7 separate regions of the Homo sapiens genome follow, and all the other regions are linked to region 2. The links are contacts of gene promoters, found by promoter capture Hi-C in human tissues and cell types (Jung and others, 2019). All regions are on one chromosome and are shown on one strand. The core of a region is centred on a gene start or on the middle of the fragment in contact, and the rest is flanking DNA. Distances in the headings are between cores, read along the strand shown. Region 1 has its middle 110 kb from the start of LINC01148. Region 2 holds the start of FLRT2 (fibronectin leucine rich transmembrane protein 2). Region 3 has its middle 470 kb from the start of LINC02305. Region 4 has its middle 93 kb from the start of LINC02305. Region 5 has its middle 260 kb from the start of LINC02305. Region 6 has its middle 6.3 kb from the start of LINC01148. Region 7 has its middle 550 kb from the start of LINC02305.

Evidence for each region. The method cuts DNA at HindIII sites, captures the fragments that hold promoters and counts their contacts. A contact is called where the count stands out against the background at its distance.
Region 1: a fragment that was not itself captured here is called in contact with the fragment with the promoter of FLRT2 in region 2 in 1 of the 25 tissues and cell types used here (dorsolateral prefrontal cortex).
Region 3: a fragment that was not itself captured here is called in contact with the fragment with the promoter of FLRT2 in region 2 in 1 of the 25 tissues and cell types used here (dorsolateral prefrontal cortex).
Region 4: a fragment that was not itself captured here is called in contact with the fragment with the promoter of FLRT2 in region 2 in 1 of the 25 tissues and cell types used here (heart left ventricle).
Region 5: a fragment that was not itself captured here is called in contact with the fragment with the promoter of FLRT2 in region 2 in 2 of the 25 tissues and cell types used here (dorsolateral prefrontal cortex and lymphoblastoid cells).
Region 6: a fragment that was not itself captured here is called in contact with the fragment with the promoter of FLRT2 in region 2 in 2 of the 25 tissues and cell types used here (dorsolateral prefrontal cortex and mesenchymal stem cells).
Region 7: a fragment that was not itself captured here is called in contact with the fragment with the promoter of FLRT2 in region 2 in 2 of the 25 tissues and cell types used here (dorsolateral prefrontal cortex and mesenchymal stem cells).

Annotation. Positions count from the first base shown.
Region 1 is chr14:87,009,714-87,012,423 of GRCh38, forward strand. No RefSeq gene overlaps it. Among named protein-coding and RNA genes, the nearest start is that of LINC01148, 110 kb to the left of the region's middle. RefSeq lists an enhancer at 1-218. The HindIII fragment of the contact is 4,134 bases long and covers 1-2,710 here.
Region 2 is chr14:85,528,777-85,531,476 of GRCh38, forward strand. FLRT2 (fibronectin leucine rich transmembrane protein 2) reads left to right here and starts at 1,368. Exons shown (of 2, transcript NM_013231.6): 1 at 1,368-1,758. FLRT2-AS1 (FLRT2 antisense RNA 1) reads right to left here. Exons shown (of 2, transcript NR_184170.1): 1 at 1-2,700. The HindIII fragment of the contact is 3,489 bases long and covers 1-2,700 here.
Region 3 is chr14:84,384,622-84,387,321 of GRCh38, forward strand. No RefSeq gene overlaps it. Among named protein-coding and RNA genes, the nearest start is that of LINC02305, 470 kb to the left of the region's middle. The HindIII fragment of the contact is 3,461 bases long and covers 1-2,700 here.
Region 4 is chr14:83,820,900-83,823,599 of GRCh38, forward strand. No RefSeq gene overlaps it. Among named protein-coding and RNA genes, the nearest start is that of LINC02305, 93 kb to the right of the region's middle. The HindIII fragment of the contact is 6,578 bases long and covers 1-2,700 here.
Region 5 is chr14:84,169,154-84,171,853 of GRCh38, forward strand. No RefSeq gene overlaps it. Among named protein-coding and RNA genes, the nearest start is that of LINC02305, 260 kb to the left of the region's middle. The HindIII fragment of the contact is 4,006 bases long and covers 1-2,700 here.
Region 6 is chr14:86,898,153-86,900,852 of GRCh38, forward strand. No RefSeq gene overlaps it. Among named protein-coding and RNA genes, the nearest start is that of LINC01148, 6.3 kb to the right of the region's middle. The HindIII fragment of the contact is 5,785 bases long and covers 1-2,700 here.
Region 7 is chr14:84,461,709-84,464,408 of GRCh38, forward strand. No RefSeq gene overlaps it. Among named protein-coding and RNA genes, the nearest start is that of LINC02305, 550 kb to the left of the region's middle. The HindIII fragment of the contact is 6,074 bases long and covers 1-2,700 here.

The sequences.
Region 1 (2,710 bases), core at 42-2,541, 1.5 Mb after region 2:
GGTCATCAGACTTTTAGCTGCATCTGATGTGATTGAATGAGTTTCTGTAGAAAATATAAAATGCTAGACAAGGATTGAGGAGTGGAGAACACCTAGATTTATTCCCAGAGTCTACAAGCCTCCCTCTGGGTGACTTATGCAAGCTTATGTTCATATCTTTAATATGAGAGGCATGGAGAGAAGATAATAGAGAAAATAATAATAATAGTGATATGATGATACTAATACTTAACATTTATTCATAATTTTTATATGTAAACATTGTTTTATTACTCCATGTGATTTATGTTATTTAAAAAAAACACAATCTTTAAAGCAATAAGCATATTAAAGGCCCTCAGGGAATAGGGCCTGTACAAAGGGGATTTTCAAGTGAAAGAATCTAAAATAAAGGGAGTCTATGACTAATCTCTGCTACATCTCCACCAAATAAAATCTTGCTATTTAGCAACTATGAGACCTGCTGCATTATCTGGCCTTCATCCATTCCTGCCCTGATCATTCACCATGCAAGATATTTACCTTGTGATTGTTAATTTTATGTCAACTTGAATGGACCACAGGGTGCCCCGATTGAACACCGTTTTGTGGTGTGTCTGTGTGGGTGCTTTGGGATAACCTTAGCATTTGAATTAGTGGATTTAGTAATGCACATTGCCTTCTTCAATGTGGTGGGTATCATCCAATCTGTTGAGAACTTGAAGAATACAAGAGGCGGATGAAGGAGAAACTCACTTTTTCTTTTTTTTTTCCGTTTTACTGCGTGCACTGGGTCAGCTTATTTCCTCTTCTACCTTTGGACTGAAATTCATACCATTGACTCCCTGATTCTCAAGTCTCTGGACTCTGACTGAATTACACCCGTGGCCACTGGCTTATTCCAGTTATGCAGCTTGCAGATGGCAGACTGTGGCACTCCTCAGTCTCCATAATCATGTGAGACAATTCCTCATTAAGTTTCTCTGGAGAACCATAACTAACATACTACACCTTCTTCCTTTTATTTTGTACAAAAGAATTTTATTATATATGTCACACAAAGTTTACATACCTATAAATATTAGATACACCACGTCATTCTCAAAAAATGAATTGAAGAGGACACTAAACAAATTTGAAGTAGATAATATTGTTCTCCCCATTTCTCAGATTTCAGCACTCAGACTTGGAGAGGATATGTAATTATCTCATGCTACACACTGGTGAATGGCAGACCAGGGACATGAAACCCAGGCTATCTAACCTCAAATCTGCCCCCTTTTAAACAGAAGACTGTGTTGAACACATTTTTCGCTTCTATCAGCCCCTTGAAAGGGGAAGGGCACCTAGACTGGCTGTTACCATTGCACTTGGGAAAGCTAATGATAAAGCTTGCAGAAGCTCTTCCAGCCCTAGGAAAATGAGCCAAACAACTATCTTATTTGAAGAGTTACAAAATGAATTGTTACAGGGAAACTTAGAGGTCAGTTGCTTACAGCCAATTTCCTTCTCCAAGGTTGTACCCACAGTTTTGGGCTCTGATATGTCACATTCCCTAGAATTGCTACCTCCTCTTAGGTACTCAATTGATGTTTAAAAGAAATCAATATGCAGTTTTAAGTCTCACTGACAAGGGAAGGTGGATTTTTGTTTCCCGATATATCAAGATAACTTGCTCCTGTAAAATTATTAAGTCTGTGTGACTTGTTGGCCAACCTGACTTCAAATAAAGTTATTTCAAAGGATAATAAAAGTCCTCCAAGCTCAGAAGACAAGGAAGACCTTAATTAAAATCAATGAAGAAAAAATCTGTAAAACAATTAAGCACTTAAGTTGACTCCTTTTAATTTGAGGTCTGAAGGTCTTCTTGGGAAATTCCTAAATCACTGAGATGATTTAATTTGGCTGCCTTGAATTAAGTCTGGTGAAATAGAAATGGTCTCTCAGATACTGTATAATGTATAATACTCAGAAGCATTATAGGAGTAGTAAAAACCAAAGATACAAGAAAACATTTATTTAAAGAAACAGGTGCAGGAGTTAGTTGTCCTCTGGAATAGATTTTTACAGTGGAAATATTTAATAGGCTGTTTATTTAAGAAAAATCCAGTTGGAGCCATTTTCTCTGAGACACAAATGGAAATTTAGTAGAAATTTTACCCTAAAAAAATCTATGATTCCATCTCAAATTTTTTCTAGAATTCAGTGTTTATTGAAATAAATGTCAGTGAACAAGATAGAATCATTCTAGCATTTCTATTAAAACTGTTGTACAAAATAGGTAAAGTGATGAATGACTGTGGAACTAGTTGTTTTGTTCTTTATTTTGATAGACATCTGTTGTTCCTACTGCCTAGTGTTGGTTGAATTTCCTTTAGGAAGTTACCTTTTTCCTTTTCTTTCCATAAGGTTTTGGGGCTAACCTTAGCTCCAGAAATATACATGTGATCCAAATCAAAGCCAACTTGACATTCTGTTTGCCAAGATCCGGTGTAGACATATGATTAAATTTGGTCTAAAATTAACACACAAGAGTCGAATCTGAGGCTTTGTATTGAAATTATTAGAGAAAATTCTCTTTTTAATTTTTTTTTTTTTCTGAAACCATGTCAGGTTCATACTTTGGGTGGATTCGAGCCTAGGAGAGTTTGAACTGAGTTTGCTAGGGTCATTATGTGAAGGAAAAAAAAAAAAAAAAGAAAAGAAAAAAATGAAGAGATGCCAATTCCTG
Region 2 (2,700 bases), core at 118-2,617:
CAGCATTCCCACAGCCTCTTCTGGGGCTGGCAAGGCTCAGAGAGGCATTTGAAATGGCTATTATTGACACCCATAGACTTGGGTATGTTTCAGAGAGAAACTATAACATCTATCTCATGGGAAAACACACTTTCTCTGTTTTTAAATAACTCCGTTTCAGCAAGATCCATGTGTGTAGCCTCTGAATACTCTATAAAGGCTCCGTATTTCTTTCTTTCTTTCCTTAGTCCGGAATGGAGACAGAAGAAAGATTCGGTTGAAGATGTCCCTGTGTGGATCTCAGTTTGCGCTCTGAGCGACGTCCTGGCTCATTTGGGTGTGACGGTGAGAGCAGAGGCGCTCTGCTGACAGTTTTTTCTTGTCTAAGCTTCCATTCCGCATCCACAATATGACTCGCCTTCCACTCCAGTTAACTTCTTGGAAGTCCAGAGCACTTAGTCAAAGCTGTTTACAAAATGCAAAGCATCTGGGCGGCCAAGGCAGAGGCTCCTGTGTTCTCTATGTAACCGCCTCCAAAAAAGCTGGGAAATTTCGCGGATCAAAATGTAGGCGCTTAAAGCTGACCCTCTGCTGTCAATGTTGGGACTTAGATACATTTTTTGCATCGTCATTCTTGTGTGTGTTTCCCGTTTATTCCATTCTAAGGCTCAGGCTCGCGCTGTTTCTCTCGCGCGCGCTGTCCCCTCTCTCCATTTCCCATTCACACATCAAACTCCGTCCTCCGCACCCCTATCTTCCCGTGTCTTCTTAGTTATGTGAATGTGTGTCATTAGGCTTACTCGGACACTGGATGGGTGAGTGGGAGGCAGCTTTTCTTGCGGTTTCATTTACACTTGGCATGGGTGGGTGGGTGCCCTCCACAATTCGTCTCGCACACGGAACACAGTTAAAATCTGTAGCTAGAACGAGTGAAAAGTTCCGAATCTTTAAAGCGCAGCTAGGACAGGAAATAATACAGGGTTGGGGGATGTGGACGGGGGCGGAGAGCAGAGAAGTAAAGGAATAAAACCAACTTCGCTGGCAACTTCAATAAATCCGGTAACTGGAGGCAAAAAATAGACTCCGAGGGCTGGGTCTGGTCCGGATGAAACGCTAGGGCTCCTTCCCTTCCTTGAATCTTGGGCGCTGGAAGCCAGCCACGGGCGTCTTGCCACGCGAGTGCCCCTAGACAGCAACACACCCACTGGAAACGCACGTGAACAAAGCTCTCGCCCCCGGGAGCCGCTGCCTGCGGTTTCCTAGTCGATCCCAGCTTCTCTAGGGAGTGTCAGGCGCACACAGGGTTAAGTTAGTTCCCTCCCTGGTAGGAGGGAGAGGAGGAGGAGGGGAAAAGCAGCATACTGTCTCAGGCTGGGTACCTTGTAGTTAGTTGTACGTTCGAAACCTGTCGCCGTCACTTGCGCGTTTGGCATTATCCATTGTCACCGCGGAGGAACGAGCGCTCGAGATATCATCAGTGCCCGCAAATCTCCGCGCCAAGGCGCTGAGCTACTCCTTTCCGAGGTGCGCCTCTGGTCCTCCGTCCCTGGTGCCCAGCAGCGGCGAGGCGGCATCTCCGCTCCCGCCGCCGTGTCCACCGAGCCCTGGGATCAGGGTGGCAGTTCTCAACGATGGGCAGGAGGGACCTCGGCGGCGACCCCTAAAACAATACCATGCCCCGGGATCCCCGCTGCTGCCGCGCCAGCGTCTTCCCTTTCCACCTCCCTGACCCTGTCGGATTCGGATGAGCCCATTGCAAGGAGAAGACGCAGCCGTCAGGTAAAAGGGGCTGCGTTGCCAGGTGAAGTTTCCAGTAACCGGCCGAGCTGCTGCTACGCTGGCACCACGCTGTCTCTTCGGGGGATTTTTTTTTTTTGAAAGAGCTGGGGGTGGTCATCTTAAGTGGGGTGCTCTAGGCTTTGTCTTTCACCTGGAGAGAAAATAGGCAGCTTAGCTCTCTCTCGACTTTGGGGACATCTGTCTGCTGGTCGAATCCACCTCCTCTACGGAGCATCATGACTGAGTTCTGGGTCAAAACGCAAATTTTCTTGCCTGGTAGATGCATCGATGCTAAATTGGGGTTCTCAGTGCCCCTAACCTTGTCAGAGTTCAGTCTCCTACTTCCCTAGATTGAATCTCTTAACTTTCACCAGTAACAACCCTCTCCCCTCCACAAGCTGTTGTTAATGTCACCAGCGTTATTATCAGGCTGTTGTATCTAAAGACACCAACCTACTACCTGCCCGTAATCTGGGATCTATTAGCAGTTAAACAGATGCGGTGGATACTAATTCCTTTTCCTTCCAGTTGGTGGGGGCGGGTGGGGCTTTTTCCAAAACCAAGTCCCTTCCAGCCCTGCTTGTCCTCTTCGGGCTGGCGGGCACTGAGCTGGGGCCATCACGCCTTTCTAGAGCGCCTGCGGAGGTGGCGAAGGCTTGGAGAGCATACGAGGCGGAATCCGGATCGAGTGAGTTCCTTGAGCCGCTTGCGTGGGACGCAGGGAGAGGGCGAATAACGCCCTCAGGCGCTGAATGCAGGGGCAAGGAGCCAGCGAGGGTGGCTGGAGCAGGCCTTGCCAGCTGTTACCAAGTCTCTCCACAGGCTTGGGGGCTTGGGGCCTCCTGGAAAGATCCCTCCGCCGCGCTGACCAGTACGGGGCTCGCTCCCGCACTTTGAAGGCTGCCGCGGTCTTTCGTCATTTATAATCAAGCCCAAGATCAA
Region 3 (2,700 bases), core at 159-2,658, 1.1 Mb before region 2:
CCCTCGATACTAGATATGTTTTACGAGAAGTACTAAAGGGAGTCCTTCAAGTTGACATAAAAAGGCACTAAACAGCAACATGAGAGTTTATAGAAGTAGAAAGCTTACTGGTAATGGAAAATGTATTTGCAAATACATAATACTATAATAATCTAACAATGGGAATTTAAATGTAAAAAAAAAGTAAAGGTAAAAGATTGTACTCTAAATGTAAAAACAAAAACCTACACTCCTGAATCAAATGACATAGAGTGGATGAATGAGTAAAATAACAAAATCCAACTTTATGCTATATAACAAAATCTAAGTTTGGCAAAAAGAGATGCACTTTATGTTTACAAACACACATAGAGTGAAAGTGAAAGGAAAAAAACAGTTATTCAATACAAATAATAAACCAAAGAGAATAGGGGTGGTATATTTATATCAGACAAAATTGACTAAAAGTCAGAAATTGTCACAAGAGACAAAGAAGGATATTCTATACTGATAAAAGATCAATTCACGGAATACTATAGCAATTATAAATAAATATGCTCTCAACATCAGAGAATCTACATATGTGAAGCAAACATTGACAGAACAGAAGGAGGAATAAATAGCAACACAATAACAGTAGAAGATTTTAATATTCTACTTTCAATATTTGATAGAACATGCAGACAGGAGATCAAAAAGGAAACAGAAGACATGAACAGTCCTGTAGATAAAATGGATCTAACAGACATACAGAATATTTCACCCCAACAGCAGCAGAAGATACATTCTTCTCAAGTGCACGTGGAACATCTCCTGAATGGATCACATGTCACATGTCAGGCCACAGAGCAAGTCTTAATCAATTTAAGGAGACTGAAATAATATCAAGTATTATTTCTGACCACAATAAAATAAAACTAGAAATTAATAGCAGAAGAAAAATTGAAAAGTTCACCAATATGTGGAAAATAACAAACTTGTAACAACCAATTGATTAAAAAAAACAAAAAAAGTGAAATTAGAAAGTATCTAGTGGCAAATGTAAGCAAAAATAGAATATACTAAAACTTATGGGACTTAGCAAAAGCAGTACTGAGAGGCAAATTTATATCAATAATTGCTTACATCAGTAAGAAAGAAAGCTTTCAAATAAAAACCTAACTTCATACCATAAGAACACAGAAAATGAGCAAAACAAGCCAAAATTTAGCAGAAGGAAGGAAGAAATATTAGAGCAGAAATAAACACAATAAAGGATAGAAAAAAATTAATGATGGTGTTTTTAAAATTAGTTAATTTTTTGAAAAGATCAACAAATTGACAAATCTTTTCATAGTCTAGAAAAAGAAGGCTCATTAATAAAATCATAAATCAAAGAGGAGTTATTACAACTGATGCCAAAGTAATCAAAATGATCATAAAAATCTACCATGAACAATTACATACCAACAAATTGGATAACTTAGAAGAAATTGATAAGTTTCGAGAAACATGCAACCTACCAAGACTGAGTCACAAAGTAACAGGAAATTTGAACAGATCAATTACAAGTAAGAATATTAAATTAGTAATAAAAATATGCCAACCAAGAAAAGCTCAGGAGCAAATGTCTTCACTGGTCAATTCTGCTAAGCATTTAAGAAGAGTTAGTGCCAATCCTTCTCAATCTCTTAGCAAAAATTGTAGCAAGAAACAAACAAATTTTTTTCTGAGGCTAGCCTTATACCAAAGCCAGACAAATAAATGAAGAGAAAAAACCTTACAGGCCAACAATTCTGAAAAACAGAGATGCAAAAATCTTCAAGACAGTAGCAAACCCAATTCAGCTGCATACATAAAGGATTACACACCATGAACAAGTCAACATATGAAAATTAATCACTGCAATATACCATAATAACATAATTGATTCACACAATTATCTTGATACATTAAAAAAAAACATTTTACAAAATTCCACATGCTTTCCTAATAAAAACACTCAACAAACTAGGAATAAAAGAAAATGACCTCATCATGGCAAGAGTCACATATGAAAAGTCCACAGGACATGAGGTTGGAATGATCGTAAATGGGATTGGTGATTTTATAAGAAGAGATTAGAGAGGGATTTTTTTTTTCTGCCATGGGAAGATGCAACAAAAAAGGTGTCTGTTTGCAAAACAGGAAGGGAGCCGGCCTTCACCAGAAACCAAATAGGCCAGGACCTTGATTTTGAACTTCCCAGCCTCCAGAATTATAATAAATCTTTTTGTTTATGGAATTTTTGTTAAAACAGCCTAAACTGACAATGACAACAGTATCCAGAACTTCTACAAATCTATAGCAAAAACAATAACAACAACACCAAGAAAACATTGAAATAGACAAAAACTTTGCTAAGACTGGATATTTGACCCCACAAAATCCCATGTTGAAATTTGATTGCAATTTGGTGCCCAATGTTGGAAGTGGGGACTGATGGGAGGTGTTTGGGTCATGGGGGTGAATATTTAATTAATAGATTAATGCCCTCTCTCGGGGTGAGTGAGTTCTTGCTCTACTAGTTTCCATGAAAGCTGATTGTTGAAAAGAGCCTGTCACCCTCCCTCCTCGTTTCTTCCCTCACTATGTGCTATCTGCATACATCAGTTCTCCTTTGCCTTTTGACATGAGAGAAAGCAGCCTATCAGATGCCCAATCTTGAACCCTCTAGCCAGCAGAACCATGAACCAAACCCTT
Region 4 (2,700 bases), core at 75-2,574, 1.7 Mb before region 2:
TACATAAATGTTTTCCAATATTATGATAGCATGAAAATACAAAAATAACAACAAAAAAAGGTAAAGAAACACAGAAGTGAAAGAAGCATCTCAAAGGAATCATGATGACAGGCAGGGACCCTGAATAATTCTATGCACTTTTCCCAAACTAAGGCTTTACCAAAAGTCATGTGCAAAGAAAACTGTGGAGCTAGGATGTTTTCAACTGTTCTTGATGCAATTATAGAAGAAAGTTTACATGTTGCCTTCCCTCCTCCAGTATGATTCTTCCATTTTATGCCTAAAATATTTCTGTTATCTTCCACCTCTACCTTGTGATATTCCCTCTCCTCATGGACCACGCTTATTTAGAACATTGTATGAGAATGTAGAATTATGGCTCAAAACAACACCCAGTTAGTGGTGTTGCCAACATAAGGACCCAGATCTTTCCATTATTTTCACTGAATGCCAATACATGCAATTTAGTGTCTACTATTTTATTCTCAAGGTCAAGGGCAAAACCACTTCTACAAAAAAAGGCAGTTAAAAGTTCACAAATAGAAGAAAGAAAATTGAAAATTTTTATAATATACAAAATAAATTTAATAATGTGGATATGAAGCTCTTTGTCAGTTCACAATAATTGATTAATAATTTAGCCCAAGGAAGTCAAGAAGGACTTTGCAGCCTTAACGTTGTCACTAGTGCCCTCCTGTAAGTTTAAGGTAGAGAACCTGTGCCTGATGACTCTGGATACCTAACTTTTAAAAGGAAATTTTCCTTGCAAGTGTTTGGTTCACTGTTACCCATAATATATATGTGTTTAATTTGGGGTATAAAGTTATCTAAATCTTTGAGTAAAATTAAAAGACCAGTAAGAAGCTCTCTGTCACACATGCACCCAGGTTGAGAATGAGAGCATAAATAGAAGGTTTCACTTGGGTAAGTGGAGGAGATCCCACACACATGGCTGAATGTGTGCAAGGATTCAAGTCATCCAAACCCAAGAGAGTTCCCACAGTTGGTGAACAATGGGAAATTGAGGAAGGTCAGATTTCCGGGAAAGCAAACGGGAAATTCCACTAGAAATATGAGTTACTGGCTTTCTGGGAATTGGATTAAAAAAGTAATAATAATTAAACATTTCTATTAAACATTTTTAAAATGTTTATCAGACATTTTTAACATATGTTTCATACCTGGATAGCTTTCACAGCAGGCTATCTTCTTTTGCTTTGGGATATCTTTTGTTATTGGGAAGGAGAAGAGAGAGTTATGCTTTAAGTTCTTACAGTAGCATCATCCTCAGTTTCTACTTTCTTCATTCATCAAGCCACAGAAAAGCAGAAAGTAATCCCTGAAATTCCATTTTCAAATACAAATCTTAAAACACTGTTAGAATATGAAATACGAGGTTTCTGTGAGAACTTTATTATTGATATTTGTGGTTTTTTAAACTATAATGAACAATTTTATTTATTGTTAGAGCTTTTTAAAAAGAGAATTTATTCTACCTTCCCCATCTAAAACCAATTTTTATTTTGTCTTGCTTCTTTTAAACATTTATTTTATTTTTAAATTTCTTTTCCCCAACCATAATGGTAAATTATTCCCTTGCTTCTTTATAATGATTTTTGTCATTGAAAACTCAAAGCGCTGCATCTGGAAAAATGCTCCCCTTTTGTTTGATGCAGTAAGTTAAACTCCTCCTTTCACCCCTCCCTGAGAAACAAATACCTCCTCCACACATTGACGCGCACATAAACTTCAGGTCTTCAGCTTGTTCTCTTCACTTAAAGTCATTGCTCTTGTGTATTGCAAGCTATAATTGCTTCTAGCAATATAATGCCTTACCACACTAACATAATCCTAATGCAGTTACTAAATATTTTTTACATGGCAGTATCTCTCTTTGGATAACTATTACGTCGGGTATTATTATAATTCTCTTTGTACCATTGTAGTTTGAAAACGTATAGAAGAGAACCGGCTTATATCTGCCTAGCAATTAAATGGAATATTATAAACGGGATAGTCTATCAGTAAAACCTGACTGTTTACTTGCTGAAGTAGTTTTCAGCAGAGAAACAGCTGCAGCCCAGATTGCTCTAGGAAAGAATACATTTCATCTAAAATAATGTAGGCAGCATGCTTCCATTATGAAGTTGGATATTCACTTCCTCTGTTATTAGAAGGTGATAATAGAGTGGGCAATCCAGAAAGGTTTGACAGCATAAGAAGACAACGAAGAAGATGAAAAGATCCCATCTTCTGCTCACATTGAGAAATTCTGCTGATCGAATACAATGATCATAAAAACTGGCACTTGCATGATGAGTTTCTTGCAAGGATCTCAGCCCATACAGACATCATTTCTCCCTTTTTACAGTGTGATCACCATCACCGGGGTAGGAACCAATCACTTTTAAAGAGCCTAGTTATCTATCCAAGTATCTTTATATTCTCATTCATACAATATATTTAGGAGTAATCGATAAAGTGAGATTAATTATTCCAATATCTGAGGTTACTATTCATTTTATTTTTAGAAAACTTGTATTGGCTGAAAGTACTATGAGACCTATTTTCACATTTTAACTAATTATAATCCCATATGGGTCACTAGGTTCATCGGGCCTAAAAATTTATTATGGAGAAATGTCAGCAAGTTTCTCTACTGTATTTCCTTACCCATCTTAGCACAACCTAAGTAAATTT
Region 5 (2,700 bases), core at 101-2,600, 1.4 Mb before region 2:
GGAAGAAGAGGAACAGGTAAGTGGGGAAGTTTGTCAGGCTCAGTACGAACCGTTCACCAACTCATCTGAAGTGTCAGCTTCAATAAAGCAACTAAAATGGCAAAACCTTGGTGTGACTGGATATTTAGTGAAATCTGTTAGAAAGAACAGTTCACCGGTGTGTTGGGTGTTAGTATTGGACAGGGAGAGCATGTGAGAGCTCAGGAATAGAAGAGCAGAGGGACTTGGAGAGTTCTCATGAAGGTTGGGAAGAAGCTTAGTGCTTATTAAGGTCATTGTGGAATCCAAGCAGTGAGGCAATCCTGTTGCTCTCCAAAGGATCAGAGAGGTGTCAGCCCACTTTGGGATTATATATAATATACTGAAGGCAATATCTATCACAAAAGTTATTTTGAGTAATAAAATATGTATGTCACTTACAGTTTTGAAGATTTAACTTGGAAATTAATTTGTGTACTTCATGTAGACAGTTGGTTTTGTGCATATCAGGCCCACAATGAATGTTAATATCCTCCCTGACATACCCAATTTCTGCCTTAATACTATTGCTGTAATTATTTCAGAGACCTTCAAATGCCTTTCTTTCTCCTCTTTCCTTATCTAATAAATTTCAACCAAATCCTGCCAGTCCCATGGAGTTTACTCTGAGTATTCTTGTGGACATTAATCTCCTTTCTCTGAAGATTTATAACACTTAGAACCATACCCTGAAATCTCAATTGTTCTCTTCTCAGTTTGATCATAAGCTCGTAAAAGGCCTAGAACATAATACATATTATATCTATGTTTCTTCTTGAGTACAAAAATTCTTCATTTAAGGGGTGTAAGTTCTTATTAATGAATTCTGAAGAAAATGAGAGGTATGCAAAAACAATTAGAAGTGTTCTTTTATGACCTCTAGGAATTTATATTAAGAATGACACAATCAAATCTTCTCCATAAATCGGAGTGAGGATCAGGTTAGATAACATTCCAAAATCATTTGCTGACAAATGTTGATATATTGGGCATTGCCATATTCATTATCTCAGTTAATTCTGTTTATTTTCCTTGAAGTAAAAATTTTAAGAAGTGAAAATGGATGCAGAAGTTAAAATGATCATTAAATGGCAGTTATTGAGTACCAATGTAAGAAATTGTATTAATCTGTTCTCATGCTGCTAACAAAGATATACCAAAGACTGGGTAATTCATAAAGAAAAGAGGTTTAATGGATTCATGGTTCCACATGGCTGGGGGATGCCTTACAATCATGGTGGAAGGAAAAGGAAGAAAAAGGCACATCTTACATGGCAGCAGGCAAGAGAGCTTATGAGGGGAACTCCCATTTATAAAACCATCAGATCTCATGAGACTTATTCACTACCACAAGAACAATGTAAAGGAAACTGCCTCCATAATTCAATTATCTCCACCTTGCCCCATCCTTGACATGTGGGGATTATTACAATTCAAGGTGAGATTTGGGTAGGGACACAGCCAAACCATATTAGAAGTAGTAATCAACACCTCTGATTTCTGATAATAGGTTGCTTGTATCACATAGCTCCCAGTCATGTTTGGGTTACACTTAAATAATTCAGCAGAGATCTCAGGCCATAGTAGAATGTGTCTAGAATCAGCCCTCCTGGTAAACATCTTTTTATTTTTCTCTTCTCCTCTCATTTTATTCAATATGCTTCTTTCTTTTTTCCCGTAACCACAAGGTAATGTAGATGAAAACAGAGGTGGATTCTAATTATAAACTATATATTCAACCATAAACAAATCAATTAACTTATGATACTCCTATATGAATAGTCTAAGTATCCTTAGTTGGAATATTACTTTAGTGATAAAACATTAATCACTGAAGTTGATTAATAATCAATAGATACTATAGAAAGCTAGTGTATTTTTTTCATTTTCCCAATTTCACTTTTTTTTCTGCTGCTGTTTATATCTTGGATCTTCCAATGCCACTGAAATGAGCTACTTAACTCTCTGCTGACACTCAGGTCTTAAATAGTTTAGATGGCGATCTAAATTAGTCTTTGGATTGTCTCAATCCCTAGAAAGTGTGGAATATCTTCTCCAGTTGTTTCCTTTCACAAGATGTATTATTTTAGTTGACTTTTCCCATCAATTCTTATGATAACCTTCTCATTCTTCAAATAAGGAGATAAAAGAACTGTATCAACCATTCAAAAACAAAGACAAACCCTTATACCTTCTGCGTAATGTATTAAAGAGAAATAACTTTACACAGAGAGCTATAGCCAAGTCCCCCGAAACCAGACAGGCTACCCAAGAATAGCTAAAAGAGCACACTCACCTGTGTGGCAAAATAGTGAGAAGATTCATGAGTAGCGGTGACAAGGCTACCGAGAGCCTGGTGATAGCTGGTTGTCCAAGATGGAATCTTAATTCAAATTTAAACTTACCCACAGAATTACTAAATCTTCCTGTAAGTTTAACTGTTAGTCTAAAGAGGGACAACTCTTTAGACCCTAGGAAACAACCTTCCTACGGAGAGTAAAAAATGTTACCACCATAGTTGGCCCCAAAACAGCCACCAATTAATAAAGCATTTAAGCTCAACATCTAACTGTCTTAGACTCTAATCACTCTACTGAACTCCTAACATCACATTGGACTAATCTATTATTTAATAGAAGCAATAATGTTAATATAAGTAACATGAAGCTGTTCTCCATTGCA
Region 6 (2,700 bases), core at 95-2,594, 1.4 Mb after region 2:
TTTTGAAAACCAAGGGCAGGTGATTTTCCCTTATTTTTTCTCTATTTTCATTCCATATTTTCTAACCCTCTCCTCGTTTCCACAAATGCATGCATGCATAAAAATGTCTTCCAGGGCCAGGTACAGTGGCTCATGCCTGTAATCCCAGCAATTTGGCAAACAGAGGCAGGAGGATTGCTTAAGTCTATGAGTTTGAGACCAGCCTGGGCAATATAGTGAGGCCCCATCTCTACACACACACACACAAATGCCTTCTGTTTTCTCAGGATCCATCTGAGGCTATGCTGCCTTAAGTAGTGATGGCATGGAGGCCTGGAACTACCCACTGAATCCATTTCCAGCCCATATAGTTAGTAAAGCATTGAAATTAAAATCCTATATAAATATCAGTTTTTATTGTTGCTTTTACCACTTTCATCTCTATAACTTATCATTTCTGATATTTCTAATTACCTTTTCTTTTTACAACTGAGAAAAGACTGTTCTTTGCAATCTCTGCTCAGACACAAGAGTTCCTATTGTCTCTACCACTGAATCAATATAAATTAATACATTTATGCGTTCTTATCTAGATCACAGACAAGTAGCTGAAGTCCATTTTCAATATGCATTCACTGCCAATTAAGCACTATACTTGCCGCTAGAATACCCAGAGGAACAAAATATAAACTCTGTCCTCAAGGAGCTTGTTGGCTAACAGCATTTCTTCAAGGGGGAGCTCTTGGCATTCAGGGTAAAGAAACCCTTTATTGTGCAAGACTGCCCTGTGCCTTTGCAGGGCATTTGGCACTGTAGTTTGAACCCATCAAATATCAGTAACAGCCTTCTGTTATTGTGGCAACCAAAAATCTCTCTTCATATTTACAAACAAGCATTGGGGAAGTAGTACTGTCCCTGTTTGAGCCTCTGATGAGCTGCTTAATGTCAGCCTGGATGTCTGGATACAACACATCTATCCTGCCTCTGAAAATAGACTCACGGACTGAACCCTTTACTTTGGTCTTTTGGCTCCCAGACGTTTTGCTTTTTTCAGTCCCTGGTCTTTATGGGAACCCTGGTCTCTGGCATGTCAACAGTGTCTTAGGATCTCTAGTCCATCACTTCCACCCAGGTACGTGCCGCCTAATTCACTAGATTCCCTCTTGATGGACAAGATGTAGCCTAATAACATCTAGCCTTTCACAGTAATGTCTTATTCAACTCTGTACTGGTATCAATAATTTCTCTAGAAGCATATTTGGGATACAGGTATACTCATTTCCAAGGTTTTCTCGAATAACGAGCAGTGTAATGTAATGTATTTGTCAGGGTGAAATTACTAGGAAAAAAATGTTTCCTTCCTTCATTAAGTCATTCATTTAACTGTTTATTGTTAATTGAGCAATTACTAAGTGCCAGGTATTTGATTGATCTTTGAGGATTTAGATGTAATCTTAAATGAATATTGCCCTTTCCCTTGAAGATTTTGCATTCTATTGGCAAAGATACTAATCAAATTATCGATGTATAAATGACATTTAGCATGAAAAAGAGATAGAGAGCTCTGAAAGTATATAATGAGATAATTGTCCTTGTCAGAGAGCACTGTGACAATTATCCAGGGGAACTGTCACTAAAGAATGAAAAGGAATTAACCTGGTGAAAAAGAGATGGAAGAGCATCCTAATCAGAAGAACTAGTGGGGCAAAGGACTTCTCCAGGTGGGAGCAGAGTGAGCGCAAGAGAATAAACAAGGCCAGTGGGTTAGAGCAGAGAGGGGCATGTGCAACAAGGGAGACCAGTGAGGTGGTGCAGCTTACCATGAAGCATCGTAGCTTTAAGCATGGGGAGTTTCATAAATTTCCAAAGAGCATTAAGAAGCCATTGGAATGTTTTAAGCAAGGAGCAGGAATTGGGTTGTCACATATGCCTATTTGTATTTGGAAAATATCACTCAGCAGGTTGTGGATGAACCCTAGTACATAGGGGTGCATAGGTAAGAATGATTTTGAATTAATGCAACAAACAAATAATACTAGTTTGATCCAAGATGCTGACAATTACAAGGAGAGGGTATATACACAATGTATTTAGTGTTGGTTATAGGGGTAATCCAGAGCATGGCGTCTGGTAGTGCTAGTTGAGAAAAGAAAAACAAGAAGAAAAAAAACATTGAAGTGGGTTGAGGAGTAGAGAGCATATGCTCAATTTTGGTAAGTTTTTAAAATGTCTTTGAGACATTAAGAGGAATATGTAAAGTAACTGTTAAGATACATGGCTGGCGTTTGGAGGAGTCATCTCACTGTTTTTCAGATTTTGAAGTCATCTGTATATATGTGGTAACTGCATGGACATGAGTAAGATTGTCTAGGGAGGGTGCAGAAAAAGCAAATGACCAAGGACCAAGAATCAAGCTCTGATGAATGCCATAATGAAGCAGCCCAGGCTAGAAGGCTGGGTGGACAAAGGAGTCAGAGAAGCATGGGCTATACATGCATTATAACAAACGCCAGTAGCATGTCATGGCAGCCAAGTAATGGTAATATTTCAGAAGAAGCCGGTAATCCACAGTTTAAAATCGTGCTGAGAAATAAGGAATAGAGGACTAAAAATGTCAGGCAACATACAGGTCAGAGTGAGTATTGCTTTGATGGACAGACAAGACTACAAGCAAAGGTAAATGGATTGAAAAGTGTGAGGGAAGTGAGGAAGTGGGAAGAA
Region 7 (2,700 bases), core at 151-2,650, 1.1 Mb before region 2:
TACTTTACTTTTTCTCATCTCTCGAGAATTTTCATTCTTCTTTTCATCTAAATATTAAAGTAAGGCACATAGTATTTTAATATGTTTTAAAATAAAGCCATGGCCATTGAGGATCTGACAGAGGCAAGGATTACTATGCATTTAGAGAAGCTGCAAATCATAGCATGATAGGTATGAATGCAGATTCTGGTATCAGATGGCCTGGGTTTAAAACACACCTCTGCCACTTACCAGCTTTATAATCTTAGGAAAAATATTTGACCTCATTGTGCCTTAATTTACTCATTTGTCAAACTAAAGTACTAAAAATACCTACCTCAAAGGGGTGTTGTGAGTATTAAATAAGTTAATATATGTAGAGTGCTTAGAATAATGCAGCACCTAATAACTGTATGTGTTAATTCTTCTATTTATGATACTGAGATATGCTTCACATCTCTAGTTTTGTGAGAAAATGATGATGTACACAAGGAGTACCCTTACTTTTCTGCCTCTTTAAATCTTTCACTATAGTTTATGAAAATATAGTAAATAAAACTATAAGAAAAACTTTAAAAGGTAAAAGTTAACATGTTAAAGGTTAATTATTTGGAAACTATTTTCCAGTCATCAGATTTTAAAACAACTAACTTAACTTATTGCCTAAGACCCAAACACTGCTCTTAACTATGAGAACAAAGGGAGAATTACAACCAGTCACTATTTGTTAGTTAGTGAAACCTGGTGAACACTGACTCATGGAATGGACTAATGCTAAAGTAAAAGGAAGCTGTCAAATAGATATGATTTTTTAAAATATTCTCCTATTCTCAAGACTGAGGCCTTATATGTCATTGGTATTTTTTTTTTTGCTTGCCTGCCATTATATCCAAACATACAAATAAATTCTTAAAAGTTTTAATTTAATTTTTGTTAACTTTTTAACCATATAAAACAGAAATAATACCCATTTTATAAAAGAGATGGAAAGGTTAAAAAGGGTAATGAATATGGAGCACCTGAAACAGGGACTAGCAGAAACCCTGACATAGACAACTCTTCCCATCTGCCATCCACTAAATGTTTCACATCTTTGGTTTGCTGACTCAGAAATCGATTCCAGTATTTTAGAATCTACTGAACTCTCCAAGAGCTTATTAAAATTGTCCCATCTTCCTCCCTTACAAGCATAGTGGTTTGGTTGTAGATCAAACTTAACTTTTTTTTTTTTTTTTTTTTTTGAGTTGGAGTCTCCCTTTGTCACCCAGGGTAGAATGCAGTGGTGCCATCTCAGCTCACTACAGCCTCTGCCTCCTGGGTTCAAACAATTCTCTTGCCTCAGCCTCCTGTGTAGCTGGGATTACAGGGGCCCTCCACCACACCCAGCTAATTTTTGTATTTTAAGTAGAGACGGGGTTTCACCATGTTCGCCAAACTGGTCTCGAACTTCTGACCTCAAGTGATCCACCCGCATTGGCCTCCCAAAGTGCTGGAATTACAGCCATGAGCCACCACGCCACATGGAACTTAACTTTGAATCTCTCCCAGTGTTGCTATAGAAAAGGCTACCCTGATCATGCCTCAAAAATTTGCTTCCATATTCTGTTCATACCACTCCCTACTACTTATTTTTCTTCTTTTCTAAATACTGTAAATAAGAATAGCTTGTATCTGTTAGAATGAAAATTCTTAGGGTTTTGGGAAACGAATCCAAATATACAAAATTTGAATACAGATGTGAGAATTGTACACAAGGAGATCCAGTATTTAGACAGGAACTACTATACTACAACTTTCAGTAGCATTTAGATATGGAAGTCTTTATTTTACATCGAATACTAACACACACACTCACATACACCCTATCTATTAATGTAATCTATGCCATAAAAATAATATAAAATGAAGCTTTCATTCCTACAAGGTTTAAACTTCTGCTCACAGAAGAAAAAATAGACCAATGAGCATCTAGAAACATATCTTATGAAAGACAAACACAAAGCAAGATATTTGTATATTTCTGATAGCTATATTAGAAGTAAAGAAAATTCTTCATAAAAGAAGGCAAATTAATTCCCTGTTTTTCCTGGTATAGTCTCCATATTCACCTCTAAGCCATTTCTATCCATTAAGAGGATTTTTGTGAACTTAACAAGTTTGAGATTAATTGTGAAAATACCCTTATGCACACATTCAAACTTCAAGTTAACTGAAATATGCTGTAATCTAGAAAACAAACTCTGAATCAAGACACTTGAGCTTTGTCGAAAGTTCATGTTTTCATTGCTTGAACATTTCTAAGTAATCGATTTCTAATCGATTGCCCCATAGCTGCATTTCTGCTGGACAACCTGGTTTCCTTCAACTCCAACTCAACAGATACACTCAGTAAATTTAGAAAAACTTCCTTGCATAAACAACATCCCAAATTTAGTTTGTTCTAATGATAGTTTTGTATGTGTTAAGAACATGGTTGAAAGTTACTTCAACTCTGCTGTGGTAAAGTGTCCTCCATTTCAATATATAAACAGGGTGAACTGTGATCTTTTACCATGTGGTTACAGTCACATTCAATCTGAGTTCATTTGTCATTCCTTTACCCTAGAAATAAAAGTAAACCAAAAGAAGGAGGAAGAACAATAGGAGGAGGAGAAAAATCACACACCAAAGGAACTCTTCCCTGGTACTGTAGAAGTTGATCATCTTAGAAGGCATATGTGT